Linked DNA regions of Homo sapiens: regions 1, 2, 4, 5 and 6 are each linked to region 3. The links are contacts of gene promoters, found by promoter capture Hi-C in blood cells and fetal thymus (Javierre and others, 2016). All regions are on one chromosome and are shown on one strand. The core of a region is centred on a gene start or on the middle of the fragment in contact, and the rest is flanking DNA. Distances in the headings are between cores, read along the strand shown. Region 1 overlaps MOV10L1 (Mov10 like RNA helicase 1). Region 2 overlaps MOV10L1 (Mov10 like RNA helicase 1). Region 3 holds the start of ALG12 (ALG12 alpha-1,6-mannosyltransferase). Region 4 holds the start of MOV10L1 (Mov10 like RNA helicase 1). Region 5 overlaps TTLL8 (tubulin tyrosine ligase like 8). Region 6 overlaps MOV10L1 (Mov10 like RNA helicase 1).

Region 1 (2,700 bases), core at 65-2,564, 240 kb before region 3:
ATGGGGGGGAGTGGAATAGAAATATGAGTTCAAGGAAAAGAAGAAATAAACTTTCTAGCTGTGAAAGAACAGCTTGCTGGTGTCCTCTAAGTGGATGATGGTATCAAACTGTAATGGCATTTTTTGTTGCACTGGATACACTGAAAAGGAAAATGGCAAGATTTGGGCCGGGCGTGGTGGCTCATGCCTGTAACCCCAGCACTTTGGGAGGCCGAGGCAGGTGGATCACCAGGTCAGGAGATGGAGACCATCCTGGCTAACACGGTGAAACCCCGTCTCTACTAAAAATACAAAAAATTAGCCGGGCGTTGTGGCAGGCGCCTGTAGTCCCAGCTACTCGGGAGGCTGAGGCAGGAGAATGGTGTGAACCCGGGAGGTGGAGCTTGCAGTGAGCCGAGATCGCACCACTGCACTCCAGCCTGGGCGACAGAGCAAGACTCTGTCTCAAAAAAAAAAAAAATAAATAAAAAAAAAAATAAAATAAAATAAAAATAAATGAAATGGCAAGATTTATAATAAGCTGTGACTTACATCATAAGCACGTTTAAAATGTGAAGAAGAAAAATCTTAGATAACCAAAAAAACGAGGGAAGAGATGCACTCCCTTAAGGTTTCATTTAGGGGACTCCAAGCACCAAAGTTTAAGACCTCTGTGTAGCAGCCTGGCCAACATAGCAAGACCGTCTCTACAAATAATAATAAACAAATTAGCCAGCTGTGGTGGCACACGCCTGTGATCTCAACTACTTGGGAGGTTGAGGTGGGTGGAACACTTGAGCCCAGGAAATCGAGACCAACCTGGGCAACATGGCGAAACCCTGTCTCTACAGAAAATTAGCCAGGTGTGATGGCGTACACCTGTAGTGTCAGCTATTTGGGAGGCTGAGGTGGGAGGATCACCTGAGGCTGGGAGGTTGAGGACGCAGTGAGCCATGATTGTGCCACTGCACTCCAGCCTGGGCAACAGAGCAAGACCCTGTCTTAAAAAAAGCCCCAAATCCTGTGCAGACGACACCTGCCTGCAGGCCCCACTTGCCTTTGCTTCCCTTGCCTTGCTTTGCAGGGATTCATGGCTGGCTGAGCAGTGCTGCCTTCCCTGTAGCCTGGGCCCCTCCAGGGCAGCCTCCTCACTGACCTCCTTCTCTTCCCCTCCCTCCCTGTCACCTGACAGCCTCCCTGCCACTCTTGCACCAGCAAACAGGTGCCCCGAGTCCTTTATAGAATGACCCCGCCTGGTCTCCTGCCACCCTGGGCACACGCCAGATCATTGCTGAGGTGTCCCCCAGCTGAGGACACCTGCCCAGCCTCAACACTGGCTCCCCACGTCTCTGCCCAAGAGCACTCCCTCAAGTGTGGACCCCACACCTGCTTCTTGCGTCTCTCCCACCTGCCAGGACATCCAGGTCACTGAGCCCAGAGAGGTGGCCTCTCAGTGTCAGGGCTGACCCCAATGATCCCCTCACCTGGGTCAGAAAAGTCCCCAGCCTCCGTGGGGGGCATCCCTTCGATTTGGGGTTGACAGGATGGAGAGGTCCTTGCCCTAGGACTTCTGCTCTGCAGAGAGAGTCCAGCAAACGCTGGCTGCAGGAGCACTGGGCACAGCGGCCTCCACGCATGGGGGCTCTGCCTGGGCCTCCACGCACCCCTTAGCACAGCAATGACAGCTCTGCCTGGAGAAACCCTTCAGTTCCTAAACACAACTCATGCAGAAGCCACAGCAGGTGATGCCGCATGCAGTCCTGGGCCCTGACATGACGCCGCCTGTCTGGAAAGTGCTTCCTCCTACATCAAGTACTCCCTGGAGTTGTGACCACAGATCTTAGCATCACCCACAAGTTTAGTAAACAGACATGATCCCTGGTGTCTTGAGACCTTCAGGAGACAGTGGTTTCTGCTTGCCAAGCAGACGCTACCTCTAAGTGGAGACACTGAGCATTTGTTTCCTGGGAGCAAGTCGTGGGGGAGGGGGTGGGGGAGGGTGCAGGGCAAGGCTCCCAAACTTTGAGGTGGGCCAAGCCTGCACCCTTCTAGTCGGCTGCTGGTCTGTGTCTCGCTGTGGGGATGGGGGCATAGGCCAGGTAAGACCCCCCGTAAAGCGGTGTTGGCCTCCTCTGGGGCCCTGGGTGTATGCAGGCGGCATCTCCGAGCCTGGGGGTCCTGTGTTCCAGCCGGGCTGCTGTACTGAGACCCTGCACCAGGCTGAGGACAGTGCGGGGCTCACCCCAAGTGTTCTTCCTGCCACTGCTCTGCTCCTCCTGGCCTGAGGTGCGTTGCCCATCTCCACGTGTTTTATTTCTGGCCCAGAGATGTGTTCTAAGGACCCCTAAACTCAGTACCCCTAGGGTGCAGGCCTGCACCCAGGAACCCGCCCAGCTGCAAACTCCCAGAAGCACTGGGCCTAGGGCAGGCCTGAGTGCCACCCTCACAACCCTGGCCCCATGTAGAGCCTCAGGCCCTGTGGGCTCTGCATGCCTGGTCCATGGCCCTGGCGCTCTGCTGAGTGGAGCTGGCAGCCTTGCCTGGAGCCTGACACACGGCTAGTTCAGGTGAAGTGGACAGCAAGCCATCTCCAAAAACTGCGCCAGCAGGGCTGAGAGGCCACATGAAACCCTGGTCACCACTGACACGGGCACACATCTCGAGGTGGAAAGGCTTCTGGGGGTCACTCGAGGGTTTATTTCAGGGTAGGCGGCAGTGACT
Region 2 (2,700 bases), core at 159-2,658, 200 kb before region 3:
AAGTTAGCCGGGCATGGTGGTGTGCCGCTGCAGTCACAGCTGTGAGCTGTGATTGCGCCACTGCACTCCAGCCTGGGCGACAGGAGAGCCTGTCTCAAAAATAAATAAATAAATAAATAAATAAAAAAGAGAAAAAGGAAAAGAAGAAAAAGAAAGAAAGAAAGAAAGAAAGAAAACCATCACCTCAAAATGATGAAAGTCATATATGAAAAACCCACTGTTAACATCATACTCAATGGTGAAAGATTGAAAGCTTTTCCCATAAGATCAGGAACTTCCAAGGGAAGGATGCCTGCTTTCACCACTGCTATTCATCATGGTACTAGAAGTTCTAGCCAGAGCAATTAGGCAAGAAAAGGAAATGAAAGGCATCTAAATTGGAAAGGAAGAAATAAAATTATCTGTTTGCAGATGGCATGCATAATTTTATATGTAGAAAACTCTAAAAGATTCCACAAAAAACTGTTAGAATAAATAAATTCAGCAAAGTAGCAGGGTACAAAATCAAAGGACAAAAATTATCTTCATTTCTAAACAACACTGAAGAATCTGAAAAGGCAGCTATGAGAGCAATGTATTTACAACAGCAGCAAAAATAATAAAATACTTACAAATTAATTTAACCAAAGAAGTGAAAAACATATACAGAGAAAATGACAAAACACTGCTGTAAGAAATTAAAGAAGACATAAATAAATGTTAACACATTCCATGTTCATAGCCTGGAGGATTCAATATTGTTAAAATGTCCATACTAACCAACGCAATCTACAGATTCAATGCAATTCCCATCAAAATTCCAATGACAGGCCGGGTGCAGTGGCTCACACCTGTAATCCCAAGCACTTTGGGAGGCTGAGGCGGGAGGAATACTTGAGGCCAGGAGTTTGAGACCAGCCTGGGCAATGTAGTGAGACCTCGTCTCTGGGGAAAAAAAATTCCAATGCTATATTTTGCAGAAATAGAAAAATGCATCTTAAAATTCGTATAAAAGATCTTGAAAAGCAAAATAAATTCTGCCAAAGAACAACAAAGCTGGAGGACTCAAATTTCCTGATTTCAAAACTTACTACAAAGCTGCAGCATCAAAACATCAAGTCGGTGGCCTGTGGAAGGAACTGAGGAGCACCCTCCAAGCCCAGCAGACCTGGGTCCCCAGGGAGGAGCTGAGGAGCACCTCTCCATCCTAGCAGACCCAGGTCCAGCTTTTTCTGCCACCTCGATGAACCATTCAGGCATTTGCCTACAAACTCAAAGTGACTGGGGGACAGAGGACTGCGCTCGCGACTCATGGCAACCTCCCTGCCCAGGATCTGTGAGTAAAACACATCTGAACTTGTTTCTATCACGGCAGTGGATTGAATTTGCACCTTCCATCCTAAGAACCCAGCACTGCCCAGGCCGGGTTTTCCCTGGCATTGGGGAACATAAGTTTGGGCTCCCAGTGCCAGATGATCAGGCAGGCATAACCTGGATACAGGTCAGACGAGAGCCACTGGGGCGTCTGCCAGAATAAGTTTCCTGCGTGAGGAACCCCGGTCATGGGGCATCAGCTGTCCTCCTGGTAAAACAAGGACATTTTTTTAAACAAGGAGGTGTATTTGGAAAGGATCCCCTGAAGGGCGCATGGTGAACACCTAGGTCCCATTCCCTTCATTCTCCTTAGGACAGGGCTGCCAGCTGCTCTGGCACTGGAACTCCAGTTTAGCTGGGGACTCTCAGAACACCTCAAACCCCTACAGAAAAAAACCCTCCTGGACAAAGGGCAATGTTCTCCCCTCAAACTGCCAAATTTATAGACTTTTCTTCCTTCTTGAACTTTTCTTCTCCACCTACCCCACTCAGAACGTGCTCCTCTGTCTCCCATGTGGGTGGGGACCTGGGCTCTCCTCCCCTGGACCCTTGCCCTGCTGGCTCTGTCAGGATGATGGTAAAAGGCTAGAACACTTCTTGCTCATAACAAAGGCCTCCTAGTCTAGCGAGAGAGGCCAGGCTGATGGCAGAGGTATCCCTCAGTTCTTCTGCTCCAGACCCCAAAGGCCCTGTGCGTGACCCCCAGTGAGGCTGTGGGATGCCAGCCCCTGGTGTACAGCAGGTCTGGCAGCGTGAGTGCTATGGTGCCTCATCCCTCACGGCCAGGCAGTGACCCTCGTTATCCCAGCTACCTGTGAAGAAAACAAGCCAGATGAAGGTCTGAACCTGAGAAGGAACCTCCTGGCTTTGTCAGAAAACAAGAGCATTAGAAGATGCCAACACCCCACAGGCCATGAGACACTTCCTACCTCTGCAAGTAATGGCTGGAAAGTCAGGATGTCAATTTTTTGTTCCACACATTTTCTAAGTCTATCTGGGATTGGATATTGGGGAAGAAAACTTGGAAGTTGTCGTCTTGAGTTCCTTAAAAAATTAAGTTCACAAGTTAAAAATAAGTCTTTATCACCAGGTATCACTAGACATTCTTACCTAAACATCCTTTCCTATTTTAGGAAGACCAAAGTCCATCCATTTCCTGAGAAGAACTGATATATGAATAGCTGGTCTAAGGCAGTGGTTTGAAGCTTTCGTTTTAGCTCTGGGATCCTTTCCTCAAACAGTTCCCACAAGTGCTCTACTATTTGTAAACAGGTAAGTGTAGCTGCACAGGCTGTGGGAAAACAGGGCTGGAACCCCCAGAATCTCCTGGAACCAGGAGTTTGGAAA
Region 3 (2,700 bases), core at 146-2,645:
CCACCAGGCCTCCAGGTGCTCCTCCTGCGCCTCTAGCATCTGATTGCATTCGAAGTCGCTGCTCTCGCACAGCCCCTCCAGGATCTCCAGCAGGCGAATCTCGCTGAAACACAGGCCCACACCGGCCCACCGTCAGCGCCTCCAAGGCAGTGAAGAAAAATCCGAACCAATACGCCAACCTGGGTGCAGGGGCCGGGGAGCCAGGACTCCGGGCACAGAGAATAAGGGGACCCCACTGTCAGGGGAAGCCAGGAGCGGTTCCCACAAGTGGGGCTGGTGTTCCAGTTTACATTTTGAAAAGCCACTGTCTGTTGAGGGGGTAGGGACCAGAGCAGAAGCTGGAAGGCCAGAGAGGGGCCAGCCATTAGTCCTCAGGGAGAAGCCGAGGTGACTCGGACGGGTGACTGGTGCCTCGGGGGCTGTTCTGTCTCCCTGTCATTAACACAGGCACCAAAGGCAGGACACGACTTCCCAGGACAGCGCCAGGCCAAGACCCACAGGGGTGCTCCAGGGCACCCACCTGGACTCGTACTTGGACAGCGTCTTTTCCTCCCAAGCCGTGTTCCCGCCGCCAAAGTTCTTCTTTGCGGTGTCCACCATCCCCTGCGAGGAGACAGTGCCCATAGTGCTTGGTACCACCTGACCCGGGTCCAGGGTGGGGGCGAGCCCAGGTCGAGGGTGAGGGGACTCCAGGCCCACGGTGGCGTCGACCCTGGTTCCACGGTGGGGGTGGATCCGGGTCAAGGGTGAGGGGGACTCCAGGACCACGGTGGAGGGACTCTGGATCGACGGTGAGGGGGATCCCGAATCCAGGGTGAGGGGGACCCCGGATCCAGGGTGAGGGCGACCCTGGGCCCAAGGTGGGGCGACCCCGGATGCAGGGTGAGGGGGACCCCGGGCCCAAGGTTGACGACCCCGCCCGGCCCCTTCCCACCTGGTTAAACTTGTCCACCAGCCCCCGGCACCGGTGGCAGGGCGTCGGCTTCTTGGCGGCCTCCGGCGCGGGCGGCAGCAGCAGCAGAAGCGGCAGGAGCCCCAGCGCGGCCCGGCGCGGCAGGCGCATGGCGGGTAGCGCTGCGGGAAGACGCAGCCGGAGCTCCAGGTCCTGCGGCCGTGCTGCTCCGGCCTCCCGGCCGCCCACCCGCTCCCAGCCGCGCCGGCCTGTCCCCCAGGCTACTTGACGGCGCCGGCGAGGCCCCGCCCCACCCGCCAGCCCCGCGCCGCTATTGGTTGATGGGACCCGCCCCGGCCTGATATGGCCCAATCCGAGTTCGCCACGAGAGGTGACCAATGGGAAGGCCCCGGATCAGCGGCCGCCAGGAGTCCGGGGGCGGGGCGTGCAGGTCCGACCCCGCCTCCCGCTCCCCGCCCCTCGCGCGCAGCCCGCGGCGGCCATCTTTACTCAGGGCACAGAGGGTCTCTGCGGCCGTAGCGGCCGGGGCTGCGGTAGCCACTTTAGATTTGGGCAAGGACTTTAGATTCGGGCTCTGTTCTGTTTCCGCCGTCCTGCTTCCTGCCGAGGCTGGCCCAGGCAGCCGCGCTTCGAAGGACGCCGCCGGGAGCTGCGGAGGTCAGTGCGCGCTGCCGCGACCGGGGCCTTCAGGCGGGCGCGCGGCGAGACCAGGGAGGAGGCGGGCGAGGGCGCGACCCGAGCTGGCGCTGGCGCTGGATTCCTGAGGCCTCACCGCGCATGTCCACGCGTCACAGCCCCGTGCTCCTTACCTGGGGCTGCACCCCTCACTTGGGGCCGGGCTCCTCACCTGGGGCTGGACCTGTCACCTGGGGGCCAGACCTCTCACCCGGGGGCCGGACCTCTCATCCGGGGGCCCGACCTCTCACCTGGGGCTGGACCTCTCACCTGGGGCCGGGCTCCTCACCTGGGGCCGGACCTCCCACCTGGGGGATGGGTTTTTCACCTGGGGGCTGGGGATCTGGGGTCCACTTAGGGTCTCTGGGGGCTGGGGATCTGCATTTCTACAGGCGCTTGAGGTGATGAACACTCGCTCATGTTCAGGAACCCCTGGTTTAAATTAGGGGAAATAAAACGTGCAGCGTCTGGATTTCAGAGAACTCCTGCCTGTGGAAGGAAGGAGTGCAGATAACACTGCACATTTAAAAAAAAAAAAAGTAACATCTGATTTGACCAGTTTCTTTTCTGTTTTTTTGAGACGGAGTCTCACTTTGTCGCCCAGGCTGGAGTGCAGTGGCGCGATCTCAGCTCACTGCAAGCTCCGCCTTCCAGGTTCCTGTGATTCTGCTGCCTCAGCCTCCTAAGTTGGGATTACAGGCACCCACCACCAGGTCCGGCTAATTTTTGTATTTTTAGTAGAGACGGGGTTTCACCATGTTGGCCAGGCTGGTCTCGAAGTCCTGACCTCAAGCGATCTGCCTGCCTCAGCCTCCCAAAGTGCTAGGGTTACAGGCGTGAGCCACCATGCTTAGCCTGATTTGATCAATTTCGGTAGAGGCCTTAAAATCTGGATTGATGGGGACAAGAGGGTCTTTGCAGGTCATTCCCTAATCTGAGATGCCATTGTTCTGTAAACCACCATTTTAAAGTGTCATGGCCTGGGCCCGTTTTAACCTGTGGGTGCTCTCGAAGCACCCGTCACTTAGATTAGCCACAGCTGCTGCCCAGCTGCCCAGCAGAGTGGGCTAGTGCAGGACAGTGTCCGTTCACCCTCGCCTGGTGGGGGGTTC
Region 4 (2,700 bases), core at 52-2,551, 170 kb before region 3:
CTGCAGCTTCCCAGCCACGGGAGGAACCTGGGGCGACGGTTACAGTACAGGCATAGGATCTGAGCGCTGCCAAGAGCTGGAGCTCCAGCTACCGCTGAGCGCGTGTTCTACCGAAGAGATCCACGGAGCAAGTGCTCCAGGTAACACAGCCGGCCCCCCGGGCATCGGCCCTCGTGGATCCAGAGGCCCTGAACACGCTGCCTGCAGCAGGAAGCTCCCCTCCTGAAGCCTGTTCCTGTCTTTTCTCACAGAAGGCAATTAGGGACCCACTACTGTGGATTCCATTCCCACATAAGGAAACATCGGGAGAAGCCATCAGAACCTCGGGAGAGGTCGGGCGTGGTGGCTCAAGCCTGTAATCCCAGCACTTTGGGAGGCCAAGGTGGGTGGGTCACCTGAGATCAGGAGTTCGAGACCAGCCTGACCAACATGGCGAACCCCCCCTCGACTAAAAATACAAAAATTAGCCGGGCGTGGTGGCGGGTGCCTATAATCCCCGCTGCTCGGGAGGCTGAGGCAGGAGAATCACTTGAACCCAGAAGGCGGAGGTTGCGGTGAGCCGAGATTGCGCCACTGCACTCCAGCCTGGGCAACAAGAGCGAAACTCCGTCTCACACACACACACACACAAACACCTCAGGAGAAAGGAACGGTGAGGGCATCCGGGCGCATCCCGGGCTTTAGAAAGATGGGCTTGAAAACCAGACAAGGAAATGGCACGCCTTGGCGCAGCGCGTTCTGAAAGGACAGGCCAAGTCTGCGGGGCCGCGTTTTTCGGGGCTTTCTAGACACACCACCGCCAATGACGCTGCGGACAGGGAGGAACGACATGGAGAGACGACTTGGCAGCTGCTCGGCGTAAACACACAAAGTGAGGGCGGGAAGAGGGGCTGGTGTCACCGGAGAGACCTCACAGAGGACGGGCGCCCAGAGCGGCGGGATGCTGTGGGGTCGGAAGCCTCCTGAGGCGAACGGGGATCCCCGCCAGCGGAGATGAGGAAAGGCCGGGCCCAGCGTTGCCTGCCGGCCCGCACTGCACTCAAAGACCTATGGGCGCGGCTCCCTCGTGGCCGACACGCGAGGGCCCGGGACCCGCCTCCCAGCCGCCTCCCGCGAGCCACCTTCCGCGAGCTCGGGCTCCAGCTGCCCGGCTTCCTCCCTAGGGGTGTCCGCCGTCCTCCAGAAGAAGGCCACCAGCTTGGCTGCGAGGCTCAGCATGGCCCTCGCCCGGCCTAGGCTGCCGTCACCGCCGCTGCCGCCGCCCGCACGCGCCCGCGCCGCTCCCGCCGCCCGCCACCAATGGGGTCGCCGCGCCTGGGCATGCGCCTTGGGGTCGTTGCGCGAGCCGGGACCCGTAGCGGTCAGAGGTCGGCGGTTGGCGCCTGGCAGCTCCTGACAAGGCGAGGTGCCTGGTGGGAGTGACGTCATGCCGAGCGCGCAAGGCGGTGTGACCGCCGGGTGGGCGGGGCTTCGAGCGGGCGGGCGGGGCCTCGCGTGGGTGGGCGGAGCTTCGAGCGGGTCCGCCTTCTTGCCGCCCACACATTAGGGAAAAGTGCGCTTTCACCACCCAGAGTGATGTTAGGAGTCGTTTTTTGTTGGTGTTTTTTATCAAGTTGAGGAAGTTCCCTCTATTCCTGTTTTTCCAAGAGTTCTTATGAGTGGGTGTGAAATTTTCTGCAACGCTTTTCTGCATGTATTCAAATGATCCTGTAGCTTTTTATTTCAGCCCATAGGGAATTACATTGTTTGGCTCTCCTTGGAAAACTCACTTGGTCACGATTCGTTATCCTTTTGGTGTATTGCCTGACTCAGCTTGGTAACGCTTTGTCCAAGGTTGGGGACGGTGCTGGTGAAGCAGATTGCTCTGTGGCCGACCTCCCGTTTTCTGTGTCTGTCTGGTTTGGGGTCGGTTTAAGCCGGGCCTGCAGTGACCTGGGAGTAGGATGGGGTAACTTATTCCCTAAAAATTGTGGTAGTATTCGCTGGGGAACCCATTTGGGCTTCGAGATTTCTTTGTGGGAAGGTTTTTAATGAGAAATTCACTTCTGCATCAGCTAGAGGGCTATTCAAGTTATCAAGGTAATATTGAATAAACTTTGGTAATTCTTTTAAGGAATTTGTCCATTTCATCCAATTATTAGATGTCAGATTATTGGCATAAAGTTGTTCAGCATATTTCCTTATTATCCTTTTAACGTCTGTATGGTCCATAATGATGAGCCATCTTTCATTCTTGACATAGGTAATTTATCTCATCCCTCTCATTTTCCTTGATCAGTCTATATTTATCAATTTTATTGAGTTTTTAAAAAAAATCATCCCTTGATTTCATTGATTTTTCTCTATTTTAAAAATATCTTTACACTTTGCGAGGCCAAGGTGAGCAGATCACTTGAGGTCAGGAGTTCGAGACCAGCCTGGTCAACCTGCCAAAATCCTGTCTCTACAAAAAAATACAAAAAAAATTAGCCAGGCATGGTGGCGCATGCCTGTAATCCCAACTACTTGGGAGGCTGAAGCAGAAGAATCACTTGAACCCAGGAGGTGGAGGTTGCAGTGAGCTGAGATCACACCACTACACTCCAGCCTGGGAGACAGAGCAAGACTCTGCCTCAAAACAAAAACAAAAACAAAATACGTATATATATCTTTACTATTCCAGTGGTTTCTGTTTTTTATTATTTCTTTTTTTTTTTTTTT
Region 5 (2,906 bases), core at 182-2,681, 130 kb before region 3:
GTGCTATGTGCAATGTTATTCCATTGAAATTTGTTTAGACTTGCTTTACGCCTAACATTTTGTTAATTTATGTAACAGTTGGTGTAGAGTGTGCTTTTTTTTTTTTTTTTTGAGATGGAGTCTCGCTCTGTCACCCATGCTAGAGTGCAGTGGCACAGTCTTGGCTCACTGCAACCTTTGCCTTCCAGGTTCAAGCGATTCTCCTGCCTCAGCCTCCTGAGTAGCTGGGACTACAGGTGTGCACCACCATGCTCGGCTAATTTTTGTATTTTTAGTAGAGACGGGGTTTCACCATGTTGGCCAGGCTGGTCTTGAACTCCTGACCTCAGGTGATCCACCCACCTCGGCCTCCCACAGTGCTGGGATTACTGACTTGACCCACCGTGCTCCGCCAGAGTGAGCTGTTTATAGCCACTAGAGTAGAGTTTGTTATTTGAGTTGTTCAAATCCTCTAAAGTCTTATGGAACTTATTGGTCTGTGCATTCTATCAATTACTGAGAGAAGCAGGTTAAAATACCCTATTATAATCTTGGGTTTGTCTACTTTGTAGTTCTAGTTTTGTTTTTTATAACTAATGCCTTCTTAATAGGTGCATACACATGTATCTTTCTAGTGAATTGAATCTTTTTAAAATTATGAAATGGTTTTCTTTACCTTAGTAATGTTTATTTGTCCCAAAGACTATTTTGTCTCATATTTCTATCTTTTCCTTTTCTACCCCATCATCTGTATACCTATGTGTTTGATGGTCTCTTTGCCTTTTGTCTGGAGCATTTAGTGTATTTATCTATAATTAAACCGTTGATGTATTCAGGTGTGTCTGTTATCTTCATTCATTTAGTACGTTCCTTTGGTTCAATTTTCCTTTCCTCTCCTTTCATGTGCTCTCCCGGACTGGTTACTTTTTAAATCCCCCTTTCCCCTCTCTTACCTGTTGGAAATCTTACGCTGTTTTTATTCCTTTGGTGGTTTCCTTAGGAATTGTATTCTGCCCATCCATTTTTCTAAAGTTACTCAGTTTGACCACAGCTAAGCAGGGTGTTGGGGGTGGCAGAGTGTCTTGTGGAGTCGGAGGGTGCCAGCCCTCTTGCGGACTGTCCAGCTCCCCCACCGTTCTCCCCAAAGCCTCGGGTGATAGGCTCATTCACGTGCACAGCCACGTGGGCGGGTGACAGGCCTCAGACTGATTATCGGAGTAGACAGCGGCCCAGAGCGGTGCTGGGACCAACCAGATGTCTCGTGTGGGTGCTGGGACTCAGACTCGGGGTTCCCAGAGAGGTGCTGGGACCGACCGGATGTCTCGTATGGGTGCTGGGACTCAGACTCAGGGTTCCCAGCTACAGCTGTAATTGTGCCGCTTCGTCCGCTGTGTGCCTGGGTGTGGGCATGGTCTTCTTTGAGCAGATGTCTTCCTGCCAGAGCACAGTTTGTCTCCTTCTGCTTTGAAAACTCCTCTTACAGAAAAATAATCAACTTATTTTTCAATTCCTTGACTTAAAATACTATACAAACAGCCAACAAACGTGAAAAAGCGCTCAGCATCACTAATTCTCAGGGAAATGCGAATTAAAACCACAATGTGATACCACCTTCCTCCTGCAAGAATGGCCATAATGAAAGAGTGAAAAAGTAATAGAGGTCCGCGTGGAAGTGGTGAACAGGGAACACTTTTACGCTGCTGGTGGGAATATAAACTAGTGCAACCACTGTGGAAAACAGCGTGGACATTCCTTAAAGGACTAAAAGTAGATCTACCATTTGATCCAGCAACCGTACTCCTGGGCATCTACCCAGATGATAAGAAGTCATGATACAAAAAAGATACTTGCTCACGCATGTTTGCAGCAGCTCAGTTCACAACTGCAAAAATATGGAACCAATCAAAATGCCCATCAACCAACGAGCGGATAAAGAAACTGTGGTGTATCTGCACCACGGAATACTGCTCAGCCATAAGAAGGAACCAGATAATGTCTTTTGCAGCAACCTGGATGGAGCTGAAGGCCATTCTTCCAAGCGAAGTAACTCAGGAATGGAAAACCAAATATCGCTTGTTCTCATAAGAGGGAGCTAAGCTATGAGGATGCAAAGGCATAAGAATGATAAGATAGAGTTTGGAGACTTGGGGGAAGATTGGGAGGGGAGAGAGGGATAAAAGATTACATATTGGGGCTGGGCGCGGTGGCTCACGCCTGTAATCCCAGCACTGTGGGAGGCCAAGGTGGGCAGATCGCCTGAGGTCAGGAGTTCAAGACCAGCCTGGCCAACATGATGAAACCCCATCTCTACTAAAAAATACAAACATTAGCCAGGCCTGGTGGTGTAGCAGGATGAGCCACAGACAAAACTCCTCAGACACCGGATTAAAGAAGGAAGAGGTTTTCATTCGGCCGGGAGTGTCAGCAGACTCGCGTCTTAAGAACTGAGCTCCCAGAAAAGGAAATTCTTGGCCTTTTTAAAGGCTTACAACTTTAAGGGGTCCACGTGAAAGGGTCGTGATACATCAAGTAAGCATGGGAAACGTGACTGGGGGCTGCATGCATCAGCTAACAGAACAGAAAGTTTTACAATGCTTTTTTCATGCAGTGTCTGGAATTTACAGATAACACAAGTAGTTTAGGTCAGGGGTTGATGTTATTATTATTACTTTTTTTAACTCCTAGGGCTGGGTGGTGGTGCCAAGGTTGTCTGGCTATTTATCTTACTTTTCTTTTCCCCCAACTTTTTGCTCTTTCTCTCCTCCTGTCTTGTGAACTAGGCAAGGTGGGGGAGGAGGGCAGCAGGAGTAGTAGTGGTCTCCTTCCTTAGTGGCAGGCACCTGTAATCCCAGCTACTTGGGAGGCTGAGGCAGGAGAATTGCTTGAACCTGGAAGACAGGTTGCAGTGAGCTGAGATTGCCCCACTG
Region 6 (2,700 bases), core at 172-2,671, 220 kb before region 3:
TCCTGAACCAGTGGGATTTTCAATTTTTTTCATTATGATCTGTAATTCTTTGTTAAATAACTTCATTATTTTCATAGGATAGATTCTGGAATCTATAAAATCAAAAGTTCTGGGGCCAGGGGTAGTGGTTCACACCTATAATCTGAGCACTTCAGGAGGCTGAGGTGGAAGGACTGCTAGAGTCCAGGAGGTCAAGGTTGCAGTGAGCCATGATTGCGACACTACACTGCAGTTAGGAGGACAGAGGAAGACTCTGTCTCAAAAAAAAAAAGTTTCACGTTAAAAAATTTACACACATTGCTAAGTTTTAGTCTAAAACAGGCTTGTCCAACCAGCGGCCCATGGACTATATACAGCCTAGGATGGCTCTGAATGCAACCCAACACAAACTCGTAAACTTTTTAAAACACTATAAGATTTTTTTGTGATACATATTTTTTTCAGCTCATCAGCTATCATTAGTGTTAGTGAATTTTATGTGTGGCCCAAGACAATTCTTCTTGCAACGTGGCCTAGGGAAGCCAAAAGATTGGACACCCATGGTCTAGAAGGTTATGCCTATAACCTCCTCCCACAACCATTGTGTTTTGCAGAGTGTGACTGACATACAATAAGGTGCACATATTTAAAGTGTGTGACTTGACAAGTCTGACGTGCACATACCCATAAAACCATCAGCACAATCAAGATGACAAATAGACCTGTCAGTCCCCAGAGCCGCCTTGTGCCGCAGCCCCTCCAGTGGCACTGGCTGGCTCACATGCTCTCGAACTTCATACTTCATATAAATGCACACAGTGTGATTCATTGGAGAGCCACCTGTGTTGTTGCATGTCAACAGTTTGCTCCTTGTATTGCTGAGTCATGTTCCATTGTACGAACACAATGCAACTTGCTTATCCATTCACCTGCTCACGGACACTGGGTTGTTTCGTTTTTGGTGATTAAAAACCCAGCTGCTGTGAACTTTGTGTATGGGTCCTCACGTGGCCTTATGTCTTCATCTCTCTAGAGAGAAATGGCTGGGTTGTATGGCAGGTGCGCGTCCAGCTTCTTAAAAACACCTTTTGCACAGTGGTGTGCCACTCCCCATTCCCACAGCAGGGTACGTGCCAGCGGCCCCACGGGCTCACCAACGCGCAGATGGCCCAACTCAATTTCTGGCCATTCTAGCAGGTGTTCAGTGGTACCTCATTGTGGTTTAACTTGTGTTTCCCTAACAACTAATGATGTTGAACATCTTTCATGTGTTTATTACCATCTGTATGTATTCTCTGGTAAAGTGTTCAAGTGTTTGATCCATTATAAAAAATTGAGTTCTTAGGCAGTTTGTAGAGTACTTTCATATGTTTTCCGAATACAAGTTCTTGATCAGATGTGATTTGCAAATATTTTCTCTAGTCTGTCACTTTTCATTGTCTTACCAGTGTCTTTTTTTTTTCTTTGTTTTTTTTTGAGACAGAGTTTTTCTATGTTGCCCAGGCTAGCCTGGAACTCCTGGGCTCAAGAGATCCTCCAGCCTCAGTCTCCTGGGTCACTGGGACTAAAAGTGTATGCCATTGTACCTTACTGTCTAACAATGTCTTTTCAGCAGCAAAATATTTAATTTCACTGAAGTCCAATTTATCCATTTCTCTGTAAGTCATGCTCTTAGTGTCACATAAAAAAAAATCCTTGCCCAAACAGAGGACGTGCAGATGTTCTTCTATGCTGTTTCCTAGATGCATAGTTTTAGGCTTGACATTGCGGCTATAAACCGCAGAGTAAGTTAGTTTTTGTCTGCGCTGTGAGCTATGGACCCAGGTCCATGTTTTGCGCGTGCCCTGCATTTACAGACCACGTGAGGTAAAACAGGTAACTTGATAATATGGAATCTTCCGGCCCAAGAGATACTAATATCTCCCTCCATTGATTTACGTCTTTTGTTGCCCATCTTTTGTCAGATGTATCCCTAATGTTTAAAACATTTAGGTGCTACTTAAAAAAAAAAAAAAATTCAGGCCTGGCATGGTGGCTCACGCCTGTAATCCCAGCACTATGGGAGGCTGAGGTGGGCGGATCATGAGGTCAGGAGTTTGAGACCAGCCTGATCAACATGGTGAAACCTTGTCTCTACTAAAAATACAAAAATTAGCAGGGTGTGGTGGCACGCACCTATAATCCCAGCTACTCAGGAGGCCGAGGCAGGAGAACTGCTTGAATCTGGGAGGCGGAGGTTGCAGTGAGCCGAGATCCGCCACTGCACCTCGGCCTGGGCAACAGAGCGAGACTGTCTCAAAACAAACAAACAAAACACCAAAAAACAATTTCTGAGTGTTTACTGGAAATATATATACAACTTATTTTTCTACACTGATCTTGTATCTTGCAAAATCACTTATTAGTTCTAACAGCTTCATTTTAGATTCCATCAGATTTTTTTTCTTTTCTATTTTTTTTTTTTGAGACAGGGTTTCACTTCATCACTCAGGCTGGAGTGTAGTGGTACAATCACAGCTCACTGCAGCCTCAACCTCCCAGGCTCAAGGGATCCTCTTGCCTCAGCCTCCTGAGTAGCTGGGACTACAGGTGTGTGCCACCATGCCCAGCTAATTTTTAAACTTTTTAAAAATAGAGACAGGGTCTTGCATGTTGCCCAGGCTGTTCTCAGTGATTTTCCCATCTCAGCCTCCCAAAGTGCTGGAATTACCGGCACGAGTC

Evidence for each region. Contacts are between HindIII fragments. The CHiCAGO score rates a contact against its expected background, and 5 or more counts as called.
Region 1: a fragment that was not itself captured here is called in contact with the fragment with the promoter of ALG12 in region 3 in 7 of 17 cell types (endothelial precursors, monocytes, erythroblasts and 4 more); the score reaches 8.1 in endothelial precursors.
Region 2: a contact is called between a fragment that was not itself captured here and the fragment with the promoter of ALG12 in region 3, in 3 of 17 cell types (M1 macrophages, endothelial precursors and erythroblasts). The highest score is 8.4, in M1 macrophages.
Region 4: the fragment with the promoter of MOV10L1 here is called in contact with the fragment with the promoter of ALG12 in region 3 in 6 of 17 cell types (M1 macrophages, erythroblasts, M0 macrophages and 3 more); the score reaches 12.5 in M1 macrophages.
Region 5: a fragment that was not itself captured here is called in contact with the fragment with the promoter of ALG12 in region 3 in 7 of 17 cell types (M0 macrophages, endothelial precursors, erythroblasts and 4 more); the score reaches 11.9 in M0 macrophages.
Region 6: a contact is called between a fragment that was not itself captured here and the fragment with the promoter of ALG12 in region 3, in 8 of 17 cell types (M1 macrophages, neutrophils, erythroblasts and 5 more). The highest score is 10.3, in M1 macrophages.

What each region holds. Positions count from the first base shown.
Region 1 is chr22:50,161,644-50,164,343 of GRCh38, reverse strand. MOV10L1 (Mov10 like RNA helicase 1) reads right to left here. Exons shown (of 27, transcript NM_018995.3): 27 at 2,657-2,700. Among named protein-coding and RNA genes, the nearest start is that of PANX2, 7.7 kb to the left of the region's middle. The HindIII fragment of the contact is 4,494 bases long and covers 1-2,700 here.
Region 2 is chr22:50,120,199-50,122,898 of GRCh38, reverse strand. MOV10L1 (Mov10 like RNA helicase 1) reads right to left here. Exons shown (of 27, transcript NM_018995.3): 10 at 2,283-2,397. Among named protein-coding and RNA genes, the nearest start is that of MOV10L1, 32 kb to the right of the region's middle. The HindIII fragment of the contact is 2,305 bases long and covers 256-2,560 here.
Region 3 is chr22:49,917,133-49,919,832 of GRCh38, reverse strand. It overlaps ALG12 (ALG12 alpha-1,6-mannosyltransferase), which reads left to right and starts at 1,395. Exons shown (of 10, transcript NM_024105.4): 1 at 1,395-1,570. It overlaps CRELD2 (CRELD disulfide isomerase 2), which reads right to left and starts at 1,199. Exons shown (of 10, transcript NM_024324.5): 1 at 935-1,199; 2 at 521-603; 3 at 1-103. The coding sequence starts at 1,063. RefSeq lists silencers at 996-1,495, 1,606-1,805. The HindIII fragment of the contact is 6,188 bases long and covers 1-2,700 here.
Region 4 is chr22:50,088,607-50,091,306 of GRCh38, reverse strand. It overlaps MOV10L1 (Mov10 like RNA helicase 1), which reads right to left and starts at 1,301. Exons shown (of 27, transcript NM_018995.3): 1 at 1,122-1,301. The coding sequence starts at 1,218. The HindIII fragment of the contact is 7,134 bases long and covers 1-2,700 here.
Region 5 is chr22:50,050,427-50,053,332 of GRCh38, reverse strand. All of the region lies in intron 3 of TTLL8 (tubulin tyrosine ligase like 8), which reads left to right. Among named protein-coding and RNA genes, the nearest start is that of TTLL8, 6.4 kb to the left of the region's middle. The HindIII fragment of the contact is 3,160 bases long and covers 1-2,906 here.
Region 6 is chr22:50,138,301-50,141,000 of GRCh38, reverse strand. All of the region lies in intron 15 of MOV10L1 (Mov10 like RNA helicase 1), which reads right to left. Among named protein-coding and RNA genes, the nearest start is that of PANX2, 31 kb to the left of the region's middle. RefSeq lists a silencer at 939-1,123. The HindIII fragment of the contact is 7,627 bases long and covers 1-2,700 here.